2 separate regions of the Homo sapiens genome follow, and region 1 is linked to region 2. Evidence: promoter capture Hi-C in human tissues and cell types (Jung and others, 2019). All regions are on one chromosome and are shown on one strand. The core of a region is centred on a gene start or on the middle of the fragment in contact, and the rest is flanking DNA. Distances in the headings are between cores, read along the strand shown.

Region 1 (5,723 bases), core at 416-2,915, 350 kb before region 2:
AGACATGAGACGTCAATCAATATATATAAGAAGTACATTGGTTCAGTCTGGAAGGGGAGGACAACTTGAAGCAAAGGCACCAAGACTCAAGTGGGGAGGGAGCTTCCAGGTCACAGAAAGGTGATACACAAATGGTTACATTCTTTTGAGTTTCTGATTAGCCTTTCCAAAGGAGGCAAATCAGATATGAATCTATCTCAGTGAGCAAAGGAGTGACTTTGAATAGAAAAGGAGGCAGGTTTGCCCTAAGCAGTTCCCAGCTTGAATTTTCCTTAGTGATATTGGGGGCCCAAGATATTTTCCTTTGACACCACTGAATGGATATAGCACATTTTGTTTATCCATTCATCAGTTAATGCGCATCTGATTGTTTCCACTTTCTGGCTGTTATGAATAATGCTGCTATGAAGTTTTTGTCTGAACATATGTTTTCAATTCTTTTGGATATATCTAGGAGTGAAATGGCTGGCTCATACAGTAATTCTATGTTTAACTTTTTGAAGAAGCACCAAACTGATATCCATAACAGCTGCACCATTTTGCATTCCTGCCAGCAATGCATGAGAGTTCCAGATTCTCCACATTCTCGCCAACAATTATTTTCATTAAAAAAGCAATTATTATAGCTATTCTAATGACTGTGAAGGGATATCTCAAGTGATTTTGATTTGTATATCTCTAATGACTAAGACGTTGAGTATCTTTTCACGGGCTTGTTGGCTGTTTATATATCTTCTGTATTAGTCCATTCTCATACTGCTATAAAGAAATACCTGAGACTGGGTAATTTATAAAGAAAAGAGGTTTGGGTTTGTTTGTTTTTGTTCTGTAAGAATTTAATGTGTAAACATACAGAAAAGTAAGCATTATAGCAACCAAACAGTTTTGCTCACGATAGCAATTTTAAAGACACTTCAACACATACTTTTATGTAAGAGGCTAATTCTGCAAAATAACATTCACTTTCCTATGGAATAATTTCACTGTCTCAGATTTTAAGCCAGAAAAATGAGATTCATGCTGGTAAAGCAACCTGCAAATCCTGCATGTTCTCACAAATAGTATACTTTAACATGGTAAAAAGATCTTCCAAAGGGAGGAAAGAAGGCTCTTAAAGGGGATGGCTGGTGCCTCCCAGAGTAAATCCTTGCCCCAAGGGGCTGCCCTGCTATCTTCAAGACTAAAATGGTCATCACAAATTCAAAGCTAAAAAAAGAAATAACTTTTACCTTCGGTGTATTTGCCTGTTTCAAGTGGTTATCTGCAGATTTATGATAAGTCAGTAAACAGAACAATATTGATAAGATTTCTGAGAACTAAATGGTATTTGGCTCTGGTACGAAGGAGTTGAGAGAATACAACACCTATGTTAATTATCAGCTGCAAATGACAACTTTATGTGAGGTTTCTACTCTAAGGCTTACTTTATTCATGTATTCCATTTAGAATCTTAAAATTTTTTGATACTTCCTTTAAACAAGAAGTAATTCACAAATGCTTAACATAGCACTAAATTAATAAAATAGGTCCTCACACCCATCTTGAATTACTAAAGAAAGTATTGCCATTGAAAGTGATCTTTTTCCTGAGAAAGTTATGTTGCAAAATGGCACAAGACAATACACTTTTTCTCTAATTTTCCACAGGAATACAAGATAGGAAAATCAGATTACAATATATTTTGTGAGGAAAACATGTTTCTTAAAATTGTGTTTTCAGTTACTCTCCAAACAACATATTTTTAGAGGGTGAGAGCCAAATGTAAATTAAGAAGTGATCTTTATGGCAAGAGAATGAATATATATGGTAAATTTTGGTTGGTGTTTACACAATTTTTGTAGGAAATTGTTTACGAGTGGAGAAACTAAGGCACAGAAACAACCAAGCTCAGGTTCAAGGTTGAGTTTAATAGTACAGGTAGAAATAGAATCTAGGGATCTGATTCTCACATTAGAGGATAATAATATCTTCCTAAAGGGGAAAAATAAATTTTTTTTGGTAGATCACATTGATAAATCATTTTTGAAATACATAATATGAATTTCCTTGAAGATCTTTGGCATTTGTGAGAGTATTTGTAGGTTGAGGTTTTTAGGTATTTTTTCCCCAAAAATATATAAAGTTAGGGGAGCTAGCTCTAAACAACAAAAAAATTAATCTTAATTTCAAAATGACCTGAGTTCATTTTGCATTTTTATATAAATCAATAGTACAGCTTGCATACATAAAAGGCCACCACACTTCACTTCATAGAGTTCACACACATGCATTCTACAGTGATATTTATATGATCAGAACTTATTTCACACTTACATAAAGTATAAAATTAAATGTCTTAGTCAAATTTTTCATAAGCCCAACTACTTGAAGATGTCAAAGTTATTACAGTGGGATGATTAATTCATATATCATACAGTATTAGGTTAGTCCCAAATTCAAGTATTTATAATATTCACCTCATGTGAAAGTTTCTTTGTACTGGCTAAGCTGTGAGCTGTGAAATTTATATTGCTTAGCTTGGTATTTTTCCCTGTGTGTATGTTTTCCATCACAAAACCTCTATCTCACAATTCTGTACTTGTAAGAGGTCAGGTAGGTTTATGTAGTCATAATGCAGTAGTCTAGAACATACCATGTAAAAATAAAAAATAAAATTATTTTCAAGTTTGTTTTTAAAGTGCTCCATGTGCTGTATTATATCAACTTTCAAATTCTAGAAATCCATTATGACTAGCAATAGTCTTAGAAAAGATCAGCAGTTAAGCAAGAATGTATGTATACATAGATTAAGGGAGCAAAAATTATTTAGGCACATTCATATTCAAATAATACAAAAAAATCCACGAGAGTACATAAGAGAGATGGCAGAAGGGTTTAGAAGGAATGTCAGAGTGTCAGGGACTAATTTGTAAGGTAACTAGAATGTAAACTCAAAGTGGTTTTGAATATTTTGGTAACAAATATTTGTACAAAAAAAAACAAAAATAAAAATACTTATTCCTTATCAGAAATAAAATATAAAACAAATCTGTCCAAATGTTCAGAAGCTGCATCATAAAAACATTTTTTGAAAAATTTCATGCCTACTAGGTTGCTTCATCCATGTTGTCATCACTGTCTGCACCAAAATCATCTCCATCTTCAAAGTATGAATTAATGTAGTCATTTCCCTCTTCTTGCTCTTCTTCATCATATCCCTCCTGTTCTGCAGCATCATTGTCATCATCATCATCACCTTCTCTACTTTTCTCTTTGCTTCCTTCTTTCTCTTCTTTTCTCATCTGATTTTTCATCATCACCTCTCTTTTCCAATTCCTCAATTTTTTTCAACACATCTGCAGTATTAGTGAGTGATGTGCCTTTGCCTGTGTCTTTTGCCTTTTTGGGTTTTGGGCCTGCTTTTTTACATTTATTTCTTGGCATCATCTCTCTTGGAAGTCTTCTCCAATCTGGTATCCACTCTTCCTTGTATACCTTCATGTATCTTTTACTATACCTTTCAATATCTTGTCTTTCTTCATGAGGGTGTTTCAATAAAATAGGGCATTCTTTTCATTGTTTCTCTCAACTCCTGTTTCAAAGCCAGCATATATTATTCACCTTCTCCTGTCTTCAGTGGCACTGGTTTATAATCTGTATCAGGAAATAGTGGGGGTGGTTTCAACACTACATCAGGTAACTTTTTACCTTTGCTAAATCCAACAGCCTCAATATTAAAGGTATAAGCAGCACGTCCTCATCCTTTATTCCCAGCCATCAGAACTAGTTATACCAGATGAGTGGGCAAATTCTGCTCCCTAAGTCTTAAAGTGTGGGCAAAACTCTGCAGCTGAAATGCCGGCCAGCAAGGAAGGGGTGCAGGCAGAGGACCCCACCGCTCTAGAGCCTGAGAAGCGCGCACTGCCCTCAGAAGAGAGGTTTAATTGGCTCACAGTTCCACAGGCTGCACAGGAAGCATGGCAGCATCAGCTTCTGGGGATGCCTCAAGGAACTTACAATCATGGCAGAAGGTAAAAGGGAGTGAGGCAGGAAGAGAGGGAGGAGGAGCAGGAGGTAGAGAGAGAAGGGGGAGTTGCTACAGACTTTTAAACACCAGATCCCATGAGAACTCTATCACGAGAACAGCACTAGTGGGATGGTGCTAAACCATTCGTGAGAGACTGCCCCCATCATACATGAGGCCTCACCTCTAACACTGGGGATTACAATTCGACATGAGATTTGGTGGGGACACAGATCCAAACCATATCACCTTGTCTGGAGAAATGTCTATTCAAGAACTTCATCTATTTTTTTTTTTTTTGTCTCTCTCTCCCTCCCTCCCTCCCTCTCTGTCTGTCTCTCTCTCTCTCTCTTCTTTCTTTCTTTCTTTTATGGAGTCTCACTCTGTCACCCAGGCTGGACTGCAATGGTGCAATCTCAGCTCACTGCAATCTCCACTTCCTGAACTCCAGTGATTCTCCAGCCTCAGCCTCCTGAGTAGCTGGGACTACAGGCACATGCCTGTCTTTTCTCCAGGAAGATCCAACAGGAAAAAAGAAAGAAATCTCTCTGATTAGACTCCAACCATACCCCACCCTCCATCACATTGACTGGATAGGCATAATGGAAACCAGAACATGTGGTTTCCAAACAAGAAAAATCCTATGAGGGATGGGAGGAGGGGAGAGGAAGGATTCAGCCAGTGCCCAGACTGAAATTGATTAATGTCAATTGCACTCTTCTTCACACATCTTCAGGTTGCATGTTCGTGGAGTAGTTTAGGAATAAATCCACAGCTTGTGGAGTACTAAAATACCTAGTGGTCTGCTGTATTACATTATGGCCTTCCCCAGCAGCTTCCAAGGCAGCCTCCAAGTCACTGGCAGGAGAATTTGGCTGGAACTGCATGGAGGACTGCAGAGATTCCTCTCCATAGTTATAGAAGGGACTGTTCCAGGCCTGATTGTTCCAGGACTGGGTGCACCAGGTCTGAGTGTTCCAGGAGTGGTTGCTCCAGGACTGGATGTTCTGGGTCTGGTTGCTCCAGGTTGAATTGTTCCAGGTCTGGTTGCTCCACATTGGAAAGTTCCCAGTCATGTTCACCAGGCATCCCCAGTGGTAGGAAGAGTAGAGGCTGGGGTAGGTAGGTGCTGAGGCCTTCTGAGTCACACCATTGCTATTCTTTGGCCAGTTGTTTTCCTGCCACCTCTTAGATTTCATTCTCTGGTTCTGGAACCACGTCTTAACCTGTTTGTAGCTGAGGTTCAGGATGTTGGAAAGTTCTTGCATCTGCTGGAGGCTGAAGTATTTCTGTCCCTGAAATCTATCATTGAGTACAAACAGCTGTGTGGAAGAGAACACAGTTCTGGTCTTCTGTTTCTTGAATGGGACCTTGTCTTCCTTTTTTCTGGCACTCTTCTCTGCAGAAGTGGGTTGTTTGCCTTTGGGAGGGGTGGAAGAATCAGGGCTGTCCTAAATAAGCAGATCCACGGAGGAAGGAAGAGGAGAGACAGTCTCCATGTGAGGCATCTCAGCAGAAGACATTTGCAAGGATGGATAGTTTTCTTCAGGCCCACAAATCACAGGTGTAAGTGAAGAGTCTTTACAGACGGATGCGTTGGAGCAAGGCAGGCTTTGTGAACAAGCTGGAGCCACACTCATGTTATTATTGGGGAAGAGGAGGAAAAAATTTAAGAGCTGGACTGGAAAAAAGGTTAAGGTGGCTTTAAGACTTTTTTCTG
Region 2 (5,249 bases), core at 1,912-4,411:
AGCCTAAAGGTGGACGCAGTCCTTCGATGGATACATGGATAAACAAAATGCAGTCTGTACACACAAGGGAATAGTATTCAGTCTTAAAAAGGAAGGAAATTCTGACACATGCTACAATATGAATGAACCCTGACTGTATTATGTTAAGTGAAAAAAGCCACTCACAAAAAAGACAAAGTCTGCATGGGTCCATTTATACGAGGCACCTAGTGTAGTCGAAATTACAGAGACAAAAAGTGGAATGTTGGTAACCAGGGGCTTAGTGGGAGGGGAAGATGGGGAATTGTTTAATAGGTACAGAGATTCAGTCATGCAAGGTGAAAAGAGTTCTGGAGATTGCACAGCAATGTGAATGCAGTTAACACTACTGAACTAGACTCTTCAAAATGGTTATGGTAGAAAAAAAGACAAAATCAGGCTGGGCATGGTGGCTCCCACCTCTAATCCCAGCACTTTGGGAGGCCGAGGTGGGTGGATCACCCGAGGTCAGGAGTTTGAGACCAGCCTGGGCAACATGGTGAAACCCCGTCTCTACTAAAAATACAAAAATTAGCCGACTGTGGTGGCAGGCGCCTGTAGTCCCAGCTACTCTGGAGGCCAAGGCAGACAAATCACTTGAACCCAGGAGGCAGAGGTTGCAGGGAGCCGAGATTGCGCCACTGCATTCCAGCCCGGGAGACAGCGAGACTCCGTCTCAAAAAAAAAAAAAAAAAGAAAATCTAAACAAAAGCAGAGCGTTATCTAGTACTATTATTCAGTTCAACAGCAGTTTATCCAAGCAACTACTGCTTGTGGGTGTGGATGCCAGATGGAGGAGCTACAGAACTGTGAAACAACCACTACCCTTGAGAACCAGTTGGGGAGCCACGACAATGTCCATACACCTTGGCAAGGGCATGGAAAGAAATACCTATTGGGTGCCATAACAACCAGGCTGTGGGTAGCAACAAGACTTCCTGGAGAAGGTGATCTTGAAGGCTTCTTCAACAGAGCAGTGAACCTGGGGACATGGCTGAATTCTGGGGCCCGTTACTACAAACGTGCACCACAACAATATAATCCCTCCCTTTCAGGACACATGGCCCATCTGCATCAGCAACCCTGGGTATTAGAGGACCTGGAGTTAAGCTGACATCCAGAGGGAATAGGGCCCTGATACGATCTTAGGAGATGCGAGGCCATTTCCTTTATCGAGTCCCCAATCCAAAAAATAAGGACGCTGAGAGTCCACAAGTTTTCATGTAAGTGCCTGGGTGAGCCAGATTCTAGAACGCTGGAGACAGCTCTGACCTTATAAAGTGCAGAGCCAAATCCCAGGGCTTTTTGATATTTGCCATGGCCAGATTTATATCTGGAAGGAATGAAAGAACAATAACAAATTTATTTTCCAGTCTGTGTATTATGAATTTCAATGTTTTCCTGTTTCTTCACATGAAGTTTCCTTTCAGTTGGTTATAAAACCCTGTCTCGTTTATGTTGGAGAAAGAACAGGCTGACTGCAACACAGTGGACTTCAAGAGCTAGTTGAAAAGGCATGCTAACCCCATCTTTCCCCCTACTCCCCGCAGCCCCATTCCCTTTGGCTAGAGGCAGCCCTGGGACAGGTCTTGCCTCAAGCCCAGCCTCTTGGAAGAGCCACAGCTGAGTCCTGGGGGCCAAACAGGTTCCAGGCTAATAGGATTTTCCTAAAATGAAAGAATACCCAAGCACTACTGCCTCACAGCATCACGAATAGCTGCACCTTGTGATTAAAAAAAAAAAACCCTGGAAACTCCAAAAATGAACTAACTATAAGAATAGCTGGGGGGAGGCAGGTTGGTGCTCATAACCGGTCCTGGGAACTTTCTAAAGCAGGTGGGTTCGCCGGTGTTGTGCCTCAGCCTGAAACACAAGGAAAGCCGGAGAGACCAACCAAATACCAGGACTGCCTGTCACAGAAGTGCTGGTCCCCAATCCAGGATGACATTGTTACAGCTTAGTTTTCAGCACACACACACACACACACACACCCCACAGACACATACATACGCACACAAGGTTAATTTGTTCAAAGCAGTATGTTTTCAAGAGCTCGCTGAATAAAGACTGTGGGTGTCATTTAGGTAAAGTTCTCCAAGACTTAAGGATTACTTAACTGTAATTGCAATTTCCTTAAAGAATAGCAAAACATTTGCTTACATGTATCTCTGTCTGCAGTTCCCACTTCTCATTGGCTTGAAACTTCTGTGAGAATCCCACACAAACATAGAGCAAATCCAGCCCCGCGGTGTTCAGCTAGCCTGTCTGCTTGTCTATCAGCCGATGCGGCGCAGTAATTGCTAGTGAACTAGTAATTGGCCTCCCGAAATTTAAAAAATACATACAAAAATCCCTTAAAACGACAAAGTTGCTGCCCTTTCCAGAAAAGAAAGAGGAATGAAGCGCTGAGAATTTCGCAGCCCTCTCTGATGCTGGCTTTTGAAACTGTATTAGAAAATACCCACTCCCAAAAGAACGCTTCAAGATGGAAATTACAGAGGCGCAGCTTTTTATAATTAACAATATCATTGCATCACTAGCTCATGCCTTTTCCAATATCCTGACACCGCCTGAATCGCAGCCATAACCATTTTCCACCCATCGGATTTTTAGCAAGGCTTCCAGACCCTGGAGAAAGAAAAGTCCAGCGCCGAGAACCCACCTTTTTATTCCTGGCATGTCCAAGACGCGCGAGGAGGAGATGCGAAGGCGAGAAGAAAGCTCGCGGGCGGGACCCCCGGAGGAGCTCGGGCACGTCGGCCTCCTCTGGGCCCTCGGGGCTCGCGGGTGTTTTATTCCAGAGGGGCCGAGCGAGTCGTGGAGAGGACACGGGGAGAGCGCCGGGGTCCTCCCAGCCACTGCAGAGCCCTCAGCGCAAGCACCTGGTTTTGCTTAGCCCTCTTCAGTAATTCAGCATTAAACCAATTGGAGGAGGAATGTTAAAAATGAACACTTCATTTTCTAAGTATGTTAAACAATGCAAATGGGGCCTCAGTCTGGACACAGCTGGTTCAGATTACAGCGCTCACCAACTGGCTAGACTCCTCACAACAATCTTGGGGCGTCTGCCAGGGCCCAGTGCTCGGCGCTGGGAGGAGAGCCCTTCCCCGGCCGCGCTCGGCTGCGAGCGCCCGGGCAGAAGGCGAGGGGCGGGCGCGCGCAGGGGTGCGGGGGCTGGGAGGGCCCGGGCCCCTTGACCTTCCCACCCAGGGGCGGGGCGGGGCTGGCAGCGCGGCCCGGCGGGGAGGGGCGTGCACGCCCGCGCTGCGTGGCAAGGGGACCCGCGAGAACGTTGTCGCCTCCGGAAGGAAAGGGACTTGAACTCACGACCCACGCAGCTCCAGGGACTAGAAACTCACGATCGATTGGGAAACCAGAACCTACGAAGCAGAGGCTTGGGGCGAGCGACGGGAGAGTCGCGATCTTCCCGAAGAAGGGGTGGGGAGCAGCGGGGTGGGGTGGGGGGGAAGAGGATGGAATCCCGCTGGTGCGAATTCCAGACTTCAGCTTGTGCAATGCAAGTCTTAGGACGCTTTTCTCTCCCCGCCCTCATTCCCCGATTCTCCCTGGCATTTTCTCGCTTTCCTGGAAAAGTGTCCCCTGGCTCGAAAGTGATTTTAACAAGTTAAACGGTGATTTGAAGAAGGGACAGTCTGGAAAAGCAGAATGGTGGAGACAGCACATAAGACATGCTGAGTCCTTTGCATTCATTCTAGTGGAGGCTTCAACCTGTTTCTTTTTCCTGTTTGTTTGTTTGTTTGTTTGTTTGTTTTTAAGCCATTGGAGTACTTTTGTCAATGAAATCTTACAGAAGGCACTCACTCTATAAAACGCCAGTGGATGGACTGTGGCCTATCCCATCTGCTTCCACCTGCATCTTCCTACCTGCAGCCGAAAAGCCCTGATCCAGGTCCCCTGTCCTCACCACCACTCTAAGCAGTAGGAATGATCATCTCCATGTTATTAGAGGTGAAGATAAGAGAGGTTAGGTAACCTCCCCATAGTCACGCAGCTATTCATTGGTACAGCTGAGCCTCTGGAGTCTACATATTTAGCCTTCCCTAAGGCATTTTTGGGGGTAAGTAAATGGAATTCTACCCAAAGGAGAATAACAGAATGTGGATAGTTGTTGAAGCTGTGTCCATTATACTAGTCTAATCTATTTCCTTTTACGTGTTTGAAATTTCCTGTAAAACACTTTTTTAAATACCTTATGTTTATAAGGTTGTTCATCCCCCCATTGTTTGTAAAAGCAAAAGATTATAAACACCTTTAAGGTCGATCAGCAAGGCACCAATAGGGTTAAATAAAGTAAGGGGCTTCCAAAGGGACTATTGTGCAACCAATTAAAACCTAGACACTTAAGAGTCCACATCAAACGACTCCATTTATATAAAATTCAAAGTCAGATAGTGACTGGGAGGCAGCCCAGCCCCTTCTGGGTGCTGGTAATAATCTAATGATTGATCTGGATGCTGGTTATGTAGGGGTGTGTACATTTAATATTTGTGAAGTCTTATGTATGTTATATCTTATTTTGAAAAAAAGACTGAAACAGCTCCGTATGCACTGCTATTGAAGGGTTTCCAATATATTTTGTGGGTCAAAACAGTAGAATATTGGTAATTTCACATAGATTGATCTAATATAGTAATAAATGTAAAAAGTAAGCTGCAGAACTGTGTGTAAAGCATGCCATCATTTGTGGGAAAAAAAATAAATACATAAGTTCTTGCTTGTACACGTACAGAAAAGACATCACCTGAAGGATGCACAAGAAACCATGAGTATTATTGGTCTTAGCTCAGGCTGCTATAACAGAATACCATAGACTGGGTGGTTTATGCAATAACATTTATCTCTCCCAGTTCTGGAGGCTGGAAGTCTGAGATCAGGGTGTGGGCATAGCCAGGTTCTCATGAGGGTCCTCTCCTGGTTGCAGATGACTGTCTTCTTGCTATGTCCTCACATGATGGAGAGAGGGAGACTAGGGTTCCTTTTTTTGAGATGGAGTCTCACTCTCTCGCCCAGGCTGGAGTATGGTGGTGTAATCTCGGCTCACTGCAAGTTCTACCTCCCAAGTTCAGGCAATTCTCCTGCTTCAGCCTCCCAAGTAGCTGGGATTATAGGCACGCACCACCGTGCCTGGCTAATTTTTGTATTTTTAGTAGAGATGGGGTTTTGCCATGTTGGCCAGGCTGGTCTTGAACTCCTGGGCTCAAGCAATCCAT

Evidence for each region. Contacts are between HindIII fragments. The study calls those that stand out against the background at their distance.
Region 1: a contact is called between a fragment that was not itself captured here and the fragment with the promoter of FBLN5 in region 2, in 3 of the 25 tissues and cell types used here (aorta, lymphoblastoid cells and neural progenitor cells).

Annotation. Positions count from the first base shown.
Region 1 is chr14:91,599,677-91,605,399 of GRCh38, forward strand. The region is part of intron 22 of CATSPERB (catsper channel auxiliary subunit beta); the gene reads right to left. It also overlaps the pseudogene POLR3GP1 and the pseudogene NANOGP7. Among named protein-coding and RNA genes, the nearest start is that of PPP4R3A, 92 kb to the left of the region's middle. The HindIII fragment of the contact is 7,277 bases long and covers 1-5,304 here.
Region 2 is chr14:91,944,533-91,949,781 of GRCh38, forward strand. FBLN5 (fibulin 5) reads right to left here and starts at 3,162. Exons shown (of 11, transcript NM_006329.4): 1 at 2,681-3,162. The coding sequence starts at 2,697. The HindIII fragment of the contact is 12,789 bases long and covers 1-5,249 here.